Regions from separate parts of the Homo sapiens genome. Here regions 1 and 3 are each linked to region 2. Evidence: promoter capture Hi-C in 16 types of primary human blood cells and fetal thymus (Javierre and others, 2016). All regions are on one chromosome and are shown on one strand. Each heading gives the region's core, a stretch centred on a gene start or on the middle of the fragment in contact. The rest is flanking DNA. Distances are from core to core; before and after follow the strand shown. Region 1 holds the start of REV1 (REV1 DNA directed polymerase). Region 2 holds the start of PDCL3 (phosducin like 3). Region 3 holds the start of TSGA10 (testis specific 10).

What was found. Contacts are between HindIII fragments. The CHiCAGO score rates a contact against its expected background, and 5 or more counts as called.
Region 1: a contact is called between the fragment with the promoter of REV1 here and the fragment with the promoter of PDCL3 in region 2, in 2 of 17 cell types (neutrophils and monocytes). The highest score is 8.3, in neutrophils.
Region 3: the fragment with the promoter of TSGA10 here is called in contact with the fragment with the promoter of PDCL3 in region 2 in 1 of 17 cell types (monocytes); the score reaches 5.6 in monocytes.

Annotation. Positions count from the first base shown.
Region 1 is chr2:99,488,436-99,491,455 of GRCh38, forward strand. It overlaps REV1 (REV1 DNA directed polymerase), which reads right to left and starts at 1,582. Exons shown (of 23, transcript NM_016316.4): 1 at 1,382-1,582. RefSeq lists silencers at 1,057-1,136, 1,207-1,306, 1,417-2,086 and an enhancer at 1,520-2,405. The HindIII fragment of the contact is 11,070 bases long and covers 1-3,020 here.
Region 2 is chr2:100,561,516-100,564,380 of GRCh38, forward strand. PDCL3 (phosducin like 3) reads left to right here and starts at 1,478. Exons shown (of 6, transcript NM_024065.5): 1 at 1,478-1,558. The coding sequence starts at 1,553. RefSeq lists an enhancer at 223-1,019 and a silencer at 1,465-1,804. The HindIII fragment of the contact is 6,473 bases long and covers 1-2,865 here.
Region 3 is chr2:99,153,484-99,156,384 of GRCh38, forward strand. It overlaps TSGA10 (testis specific 10), which reads right to left and starts at 1,459. Exons shown (of 21, transcript NM_025244.4): 1 at 1,210-1,459. LIPT1 (lipoyltransferase 1) reads left to right here and starts at 1,484. Exons shown (of 2, transcript NM_145199.3): 1 at 1,484-1,568. RefSeq lists enhancers at 1,091-1,712, 1,102-1,301, 1,362-1,591, 1,622-1,821, 1,902-1,981 and 1 more. The HindIII fragment of the contact is 4,304 bases long and covers 1-2,901 here.

The DNA of each region.
Region 1 (3,020 bases), core at 332-2,831, 1.1 Mb before region 2:
AGGAGTTTGGTACAGACTCTACCCTCAAAAGGTCCTACACAGTAAGAGAAGACAGGGCTAAAAAGATAAACGCAACACAGGAAAAGGCGCAAATAGCCTAAGAATTGAATGGAAGAGAGCCTTGTATACTGGAGAATGATTCCTGGAAGAGGAACTTTAGGTGAGCTCTTAAGTGTCCAGTACAGGAAGGCAGGGAACAATACGCAGCACTGGTCCCTGCACGGGCAAACCCAAGAATATGTGTGAAAGGTTGGTGGACAGATAGATGGTTCCCACAGGCTGATTTGCTACATACAGAACTCCATAGAAAGAACCAAGGTTATGGTTGGTCCTACCCTACCTAAACAGGAAATGGCTTATTCTCGGAGACTAAAGTGCCAAGTCCGGAAAGACCAGACAGATACACAGAATTACAGACTGTTACATAAAGTCCTTAATAGTTACAAGCCCTTGTTGTGCTATGTGCTAGTCTGCATTATTTTCACCTAAATGAAACCATTTCTACTTAGTACATGGCGTGAGAAGACGTGGAGATAAAGAGAATTAGCAGACGTATATTATCTGCAATTTATCTTACGGAGGAGTACATTAAGGAGTGTTATGTGAGATTATTTCTTTACAAACTGAGAATAGGTAGGAAGAGCAGCGAAACACAGCGCGGCTCGGTGCGCCCAGAGCGGCGTCACTGTAACAGTACAGAAGTGGGCAAGGGGCTCTCGGAAGGACAGTTGGGGAACGGCGCCCAGCGTATTTAGCGAACGGACAAGCAGCAAGGAAAAACAAGGGAGCAACAACCGCCTTCGGACATTCCGACCGGTTCTGGGATGCACCGGGGACGTCGAAGGCGGGGTGCGGAAAAACGCTGTGGCTGGAGTGCGGGTGGGAGCGGCGGCTCGACCGGGTCGACATTCTACAAACGCTTGTGGAACGAACGCCCGAACGCGCGCGTGAATGAATGGCGCGGAACTGAATGGCCGGCCGAGGCGCCGGCGCAGGAGGAAGGAGTTTGCGGCGCGGTCTGACCGGGCCGGCGGGATGCGGCCGGGCGCGGAGGGAAGGGCCGCTGCGCCAGGGGTCGGCGCGGGGCGGCCCATGGGGCTGGCGGCGGCGCGGGGCCGGCCGCGCCATGACGGAAGGGAAGGGGAGGGGAGGTCACACATTACATAACCCGGCGGCTGCGAGCGTCAGGGGAAGGCGCCGTGGACAGCCCAGGCCGCGACAGGACGGCCGCGGGCCGGGGCCGGGGCGACGCACCCCTCCCCCGCGCCACCTCAGGCCGACCGCGCTCTGGCCGCTGCCGGGCGGGTCTGCGGCGCCTCCGGGCGACGCGTGTCCGATCCCGCCCCTCCCCCACCCCGCCGCCGGCCCGGGGGTCGCTCACCTTCCGCGTTGCCCCAGACCACCATGCCCGGGCCCGGCGGCCTTCTCCGGCCTTGCGGACCCCGGCCCCGCCGCCGCCAGTGCCCTCGCCAGGGACCAGGGAGGAGGGCCGGGGGAAGGCAGCCCCACCGCTGAGCAGCGCCGCGGTCCACGCTCCCCCACGCTCGCGGCAACCAACCCCGCGCGCGCTCCGCGGTGGCTCTCCGCCCCTCCCCCTCCGGTTAGCGCGCGCGCCGCAGCCACGCCCCCTAGCGTTCCGCGCGCGCTCCCCGGCCCCGCTCGCGCTCACAGCCGCGCGGCGCACGCGCTCTGCTCCCCCCGGCCCGGGGCGACCCCAGCCTCGGGCGTAGCACCGCGGCGCCCGGCGTCGGCCTCCGTGTTCCTCCCCTCCCCGGCCCCGCCCTGTTGTTCTGCAGCCGCCCGCAAGGGGCAGCGCCTGGGCGGCACGTGACCGTCTCGCTAGCTGGGCGGAGGGGAGCGCAGCGCGGGCCCGCCCACGCACTGCGCCGCCTGCCCGCCCGTCCTGCTCCGGTCACCCCCGCGCTTCGTTGACCGGGTCGCGGCTCTTCGGTTGCCATTCGGACAGCGCGCCGCTCCGTGCACAGCGAGTCCCCGCGCCTGCCCCGCCTTGGGGCTCCCCAGTGGGGAAGGACACAAGTGCAGACACTGACCGGGCTTCAAACCCCGGTACTGTGTGAAGATGCGCCAGACGCCCGGGTTCCCTCCTTAAGCAATTGATTTACAGTGACATCTAGTGGAGAAAGGGACACACATGAACTGACATTTTCCTATGTCCAGAGCAACCGAGAACCACGGCCCACTCAGGTTCGCGGGAAGGAGCACTGCGCCACGGCGTTTTCGGGATTCGTGGCCTGCTCCCGCAGGGCACAGACACTATCTTCTGTCCTTTGAGTGCCCGGGCAGCATTGCGCCTGAGTATTTGTAAACGGAGGGCCGGTATCCCATCCCATGTACAGCGCTGGAGTTACCCGAGAAAGCAGTTTTCTATGAATATAAAAATAATATCCTATATTATGTATGCGTAAGTACAATTCTAATTGAGGGCCTTCTAGCAGAAAACAATCCGTCCATAAGGACCACTTTCTCCCTCTTGGCAGGGTCGCTTTGAAGACTCCACATTGTTACATAATAGTCTTTATTGTTGTAATGCACAAACATGAAGATACTTTTTTCCCACTCATTCCCTTGCCTAAAATGCTTCAGAGTTTGCAGGTACTTAGGAAACAATCAGTATTCTTTTGAAAACTGATTTGCAGAGTTGGAACTTGTTTACTAGCAACACAGAGAATACTCAAATAGCTCATTTCTTTCCCTTTCAGTTTTTTGCCATTTTATAGACTTCTATAAATGCACTTCAACTTCAGTATTCTCGTCGCTAATCCAACGAATTTAGATTGCATACTTTTCAAAGACGTCATAATTTAAAACAAATTGCGTAATTGCTTTCTTTTCTTTTCTTTTCTTTTGAGACGAAGTTTTGCTCTTTTGCCCAGGCTGGAGTGCAATGGCGCGATCTCGGCTCACTGCAACCTCCGCCTCCCAGGTTCAAGTGATTCTCCCACCTCAGCCTCCCGAGTAGCTGGGATTACAGGCATGCGCCACCATGCCCGGCTAATTTT
Region 2 (2,865 bases), core at 228-2,727:
ATGAGGAAAGGACAAAACACCACCTGCTCTGTTGCTGTGCAGGACTGAGCAAGAAGCACAGGATCAAACTCAAAGTTAGTTCCAGTCCTGATTTTGGTGGTAAGACCCAAGGAAAATTCATTAACAAACATTGTGCTGCCAGATACATTAATAAATCCCTAAAAGGGCCTGTAATTCAGTTGAAATGAGTGAGAAAAATCTTAAGGATCCTTATAAATTAAATAAAAACTCCTTGCTCTCAAGCAATCATTTGATTCACTCTATATCAACGACTGTGCACTTTAGCATCACCTGAGGATCTTTAAGAAAGTATCTGTGCTAGGCCTCATTTCCAAGGATTTAATTTGTCTGGGGATGGAGCCCCAGGACATTCCTAGTTTTTGAGGGCTTCCAGGTGATTCTAATGCATAGCCACGGTTGGAAGCCCTGCGCCTATCTCACAGGTGTGTGGGTCTCTACTCTCTGTGTCCGCTTAGTTGCCAGGAGGCAGCAAGTTAGCCCACGTGTGCAAGATGCTTCCTTCCATACCAGGTAGGAATATTGCTCTCTTAAACTTGGAGTGTGCCTGGGCAGAAGCTCTGGAGCCCAATACCTGCATTTTACAAGTCAGATTGCTGCTTTTTGCTCAGTGCCTGTGTGCCTGCATACATGGGTCTCCTGATACTCAGGCACGGCAGATGACTTTCACCTTTGTTTTAGTGTTTTGCTCACTGCTGCATCTGCAGAGCCTAGAATGGTGCCTGGTACACAGCAGGCTCTCAATGTCTTATTAATGAGTTGCCTTTTCCAAGGCTGAAGTGATCGTGGGTGAATTCCAGAAGACCCTGCATCATTTTTATTTATTTATTTATTTAAGACGGAGTCTCGCTCTGTAACCCAGGCTGGAGTGCAGTGGAGAGATCTCAGCTCACTGCAAGCTCCGCCTCCCCCGTTCAAGCAATTCTTCTGCCTCAGCCTCCAGAGTAGCTGGGATTACAGGCAACCACCACTACGCCCGGCTAATTTTTTTGTATTTTTAGTAGAGACGGGGTTTCACCATGTTGGCCAGGCTGATCTCGAACTCCTGACCTCAAGTGATCCGCCCGCCTCGGCCTGGGATCACAGGCGTGTGCCACCGCGCCCGGCCTAGAGGCAATTTTCTATTTCTGACTTGTTAGGCTAGTCAGAGCGAGACGTCTTTACAGGTTTGGGCCGGCAGCTGGAAAAGGCACACGGCCCCGGGCTCCTCCTCCACCCAGCCCCACCCCTCCTCCGCTGAAGACCAGCCCTAATAAGGCAGCCACCAGAATTAGAACCAGGTCAAGTGCACTCCGAGCAGGACAGTAGGCAGATCCTATCTGGCGCATGCGAACGCTTCTGTGCCAGTTCCTTGAAGAGCAGGCGCAGACTCAAGGCTGTTGCTTCCGCCCTTACTCCCCGCCGCTCGTCCCTGGGCGGGGCGAAGGCTGGGCTGGGGGAAGAGGCGTGGCGGCGCTGTGCGCGTGCACAAAAGAGAGCTGAGGGGCGGGGGCGCTGCGGCACAGCTGGTTTGAGCAACTGAACTGGAAACAAGATGCAGGTGAGCTAGGACGGGTCTCGGGTCTGGGGGCTGCGGCCCGTTCCTTTGTCTCGTTAGGCCCGGGCGGGCAGTGGACGCCCGCCCTGGGGGAAGCTCCGGCGCCGCAGGCACGAGGGAGGCCCGGCGCGTCCAGGCCCTGCGCAGGCGCAGTGCGGGAGGCGGGCGTGGTCCCACCAGGACCCACGGCCTGGGCGTCCCCGCCTCGGTGTGCCGGGTCCCCCAAACCTCGTCCTCCGGGACTATGTCTTCTCGCGGTCTCTACCCACCCGGGCCTGTGAAGGTCTTGCCGGATCCCGCCTAACAAAAGTTACCTCCTCTCCTGAACTCCCCTAAGGCACACCTGGGCAGAGGTGTTAGGAAGCGGAGGGTCCGGCCTGGGGTCTTCCGCACGTAAAGCAGCGCCACAGCCGGTGTTCCTGGCTCCACTGAGAGCCAGGTGAGGGCTTAGTTACACCCTCTTCCCCCGAGCCCTGGGATCCGCTTGGGGCGTGTTCCCTATCTGACCGCTCGGGTTCCAGAGCTCCCCGCGAGGGTCCCTCTGTTTCGTCCTTTTTTTTTTTTTTATTAAAATAGGTAAAATAAATTATTTTTCTGTAGCTGCAATTTACTAGCGGAATTTGGTTAAAGCCTAAGGAGAATGAATGAAAACACCATGGAAATGGGCACTATTGTGGGTGAAAACCTATGCCAACTAAATTTTGTCACTGTCCAAAGATCCCGCAGTGGTCAGAAATTCTAATCTCTGCTTAGTGGCAGATGGAGAGGAGAGGGTGCGGGTTTTGCTGGGGAGGGAGGCATTAGGGGCTGGAGGGGAGGGCGTGTCTGCCAGGAGCCAGACACTGTTTTTTTTTTTTTTGAGACCGGGTCTTGCTCTGTTGCCCAGGCTGGAGTGCAGTGGCTCTGTCACAGCTCACTGCAACCTCGACCTCCCGGGGCTAAGCCATCCTCCCTTGTCAGCCTCCGGAGTAGCTGGGACCACAGGCGTGCACCCACCACTCTGGGCTAATTTTTTGTGCAGATGGGGTCTCCCTATGTTGCCCAGCCTCAGCCTCCCAAAGTGTTGGGATTACAGGATGAGCCACCGCACCTGGCCTAGACACTCTTAAATGGTGAAGTGGTAGCTTGAGGGCTGCCCTGGCCTCCTTTGCATTCCCTGTCCTTCAGGTCCCTTGAGGCCTTCCCTGACCACCCTGTAGAAAGGATTCTGCTCTTTTTGTTTGTTTGTTTGTTTGTTTCTTTTTGAGACAGAGTCTTGCTCTGTCGCCCAGGCTGGAGTGCAGTGGCGCGACCTCGGCTCACTGCAAGCT
Region 3 (2,901 bases), core at 209-2,708, 1.4 Mb before region 2:
GGTAAGAATAACCAAGGGACAGAAGTCCTGGAGCAGGGAGGAGGGAATGGGATTCTTTAAAACCTCTTCATCAAGAAACTAGGAAAAAAAACCAAAGTTGTACCATCTCAGATTTCAGAGAAAGGGAATTTAGAAGGAAGTAATATAAGCAAAGAGCAACAATATTCTGTGACTGTTTTTAATAATAACTAGGAAAATTCCTAGTGCAGTTAACTCTGAACAAAATTCATTCCCACCTGCATAATACAAGATAGACTTACTCAGAGTGACCTTGGTAAAAGGTGTGATAATAAAGAAAGGAGGTGTCATTATGTCTTCATTGTAGCTTTATATGAAGCCCTGGTCATTTACCGTATCAGCATCAGCAAACTGAACACTGAATGATTCTTACTCCAAGAGGCAAGTCTTAGTGGTTTCTATTTTAACTGAAGGAGAGATTAATTTCTGTGCAAGGTTGAAAAAGGTGACCACAAATTCTTTGGGCTTCTTTCATCAAGAGGTGAAGTCCATTACCCCACGCCTTAACTCTGGGCTGGCTTTGTTGTTGTTTTGGCCAATAGAATATGGCTGAGGCGCTGCTTCCAAGATTAGGCCTGAATTGAGATGCCCTAGCAGCCAGGCAGCACCTGCCAGAGCATGAATAAGGCTATCTTGGACCGCCCAGCGTAGCCAACCTGTGCTGAATGAAGCCACATGAATATGCCCAGGAGAAACTAGCAGAAGAATCACCCACCTTGCCCACGTTAGAGATATAAACCACTATTTGAGGCAGTTTGTTATGCAGCAAAACTTAGCCGAAACTATTACCTTGCTACCTTGACTGCTGGTGTAATTTCCCATCTCATGGAGTCACAGAGTTTTCTTGCCAACTGCAGTGAGTTGGCAAATGGGAATGATCAGTAGCCTCAGTGTGTTTTCTGATCCACTCCATCCTGTATTATCATCTGCGAATACCGTTTTTCCTTTAAATGCAATGTGTCTTTCAAAGCTGACTTGAATTTCTCACCTTTCGAGTTACCTGCCATTTGGACTCACTTATTTGGAGGAGATATGTAAAGACCCAGCGTAATACCTGTATGCTCAATAAAAAGTATTTGCTGGTACTCCTTCCTGCCCGTCGTGTGACCTGACTGCTCTGGGCTTCTGGGGGCTCCCCCTAAACTCGCTCCACGAAATGACCCCTCCAACCTGGCACGCCCGCTCTCCTACCTTCGCCCAGGGCTGGCCGTTATCTCTGTGCTGTCACGCGGGGAAGTCCCATCTGAACTGGGGCCTTATGACCTTCGGTACTTTTATTCGAACGTAGCCTGCGTCCCTGCCTGGAACCTGGTTCCCGCCCTGAAGGACCCTTACTTAGCACTCCTGCGGGCTGCCGGGACCCCACGGCTCCGCAGGCGGAGAGACTAGGCGCGATCCCTGCGCGCCCCTCCTTCTCTTGCGCTTCAGGGGGCCGGCCCTCAGGGGGCGGGGCAGCATCGCGCGCAAGGCCTGCCGGTTGCTCGGGGTCGTATGACGCACTTTTCCAGCTCGAGCCCTCACGAGGCCGTGGGTACGACCGGAAGCCGCAGGTGGGTGAAGCGGAAACGCTTCAAACCGGGATGTTGCGGGCCGTAGCGCGTGGGCGGCCGTGGGGTCTTGGGCGCGCGCGGTGTTTCTGGCGGTGGGTCAGGACTTGCGGGTCGCCTCCGCCGGTGTTGAAGCCTCTTGTGTGCACACTTTCTCCTCAGCACTTGGGACGACCTAATTTCACTGTTAGGAACGGTTGATCCCGAACACAGGAGGGAGGGTAAATATCGTAAAACATGTTGGACGCTAGCTGTGTGCACGCCCCCTGGGAGCCAAAAGGGCGAAGTAAAACATGCACACGACCGTAATGAGATTCTGAGTAAGTTGTATATCATTAGAGAGGGGACAAAATAATAGGGTCTTGGCGAGGTCTTATGAAGAAGCTGCGCCTGCCTAGAAAGATAGATGGGATTGTGCTGTTTTCGCTTTCAGTTCAGTGATGGGGAGCCGTGTTTGGCAGTGCAGAGGTAGCGAAGTGTCCCAAGAACATGGAAGGTAAGGAAGTCTTCCGAGGAAAAACTTCAAAAAATTAGTCATTAAAGGGTGAGAGTAGAAAGATTCAAAGTGATTTTGAAGGAACAAAATTTAACCAGAACTTCAAAGGCTTGACACTATCCCAACGACTGTGAAATATCCTGAAATACCGTGCATTACTCAGTCGGGGTCTGATCCGCTACTGGAGCATAGAATAAAAAAAGAGGGGCACACCTGTGCCAGATGAATCCACGCCTTCTCTAGGGGAGAGAGGGTATCCCGGCTTAAGAGCAGGGGCTCTCCTGAGTTAAGGAAGTGTCTTCCCCAGAGCCCATTCCGTCAGACGTTCATATCATGTAACTCAGTCCTTTTCTGATTATGTATTCACCAAGCAAACTTAAGAGTTGGCTTGTCACCAGACCTACAGTGAATAATTGCACAGGCTCATCTGAATATCTGATAGATGGTCTATAGTTCTCTTTGTAAATCAATAAGCTGGCAGTCAGGGATTTTTGGACATCCCTTTGTTTTCACTTTTTCTCACTCTGTGTGATTTTTTCTTATCTTTCGGGGTTCAACTGAAATGTCACATCCTCACTGAGGTCTGTTTATTGGTTTACGTGTTCAGGTGCTTAGAACAGCTTCTTGCATCTTTTCTCACATGATGCCTTTTTAATGAGGCTTAGCCTAACAACCCTATTTAAAATTGCAATGTAAGTTTTCTCACATACACAGTTACAATCCTCCCTTTATCAGCTCTACATTTTTTTTTAATAGACTGAATCTCGCTCTGTTGCCCAGCCCATCTCGGCCCACTGAAACCTCCACCTCCCGGGTTCAAGCGATTCTCCTGCCTCAGCC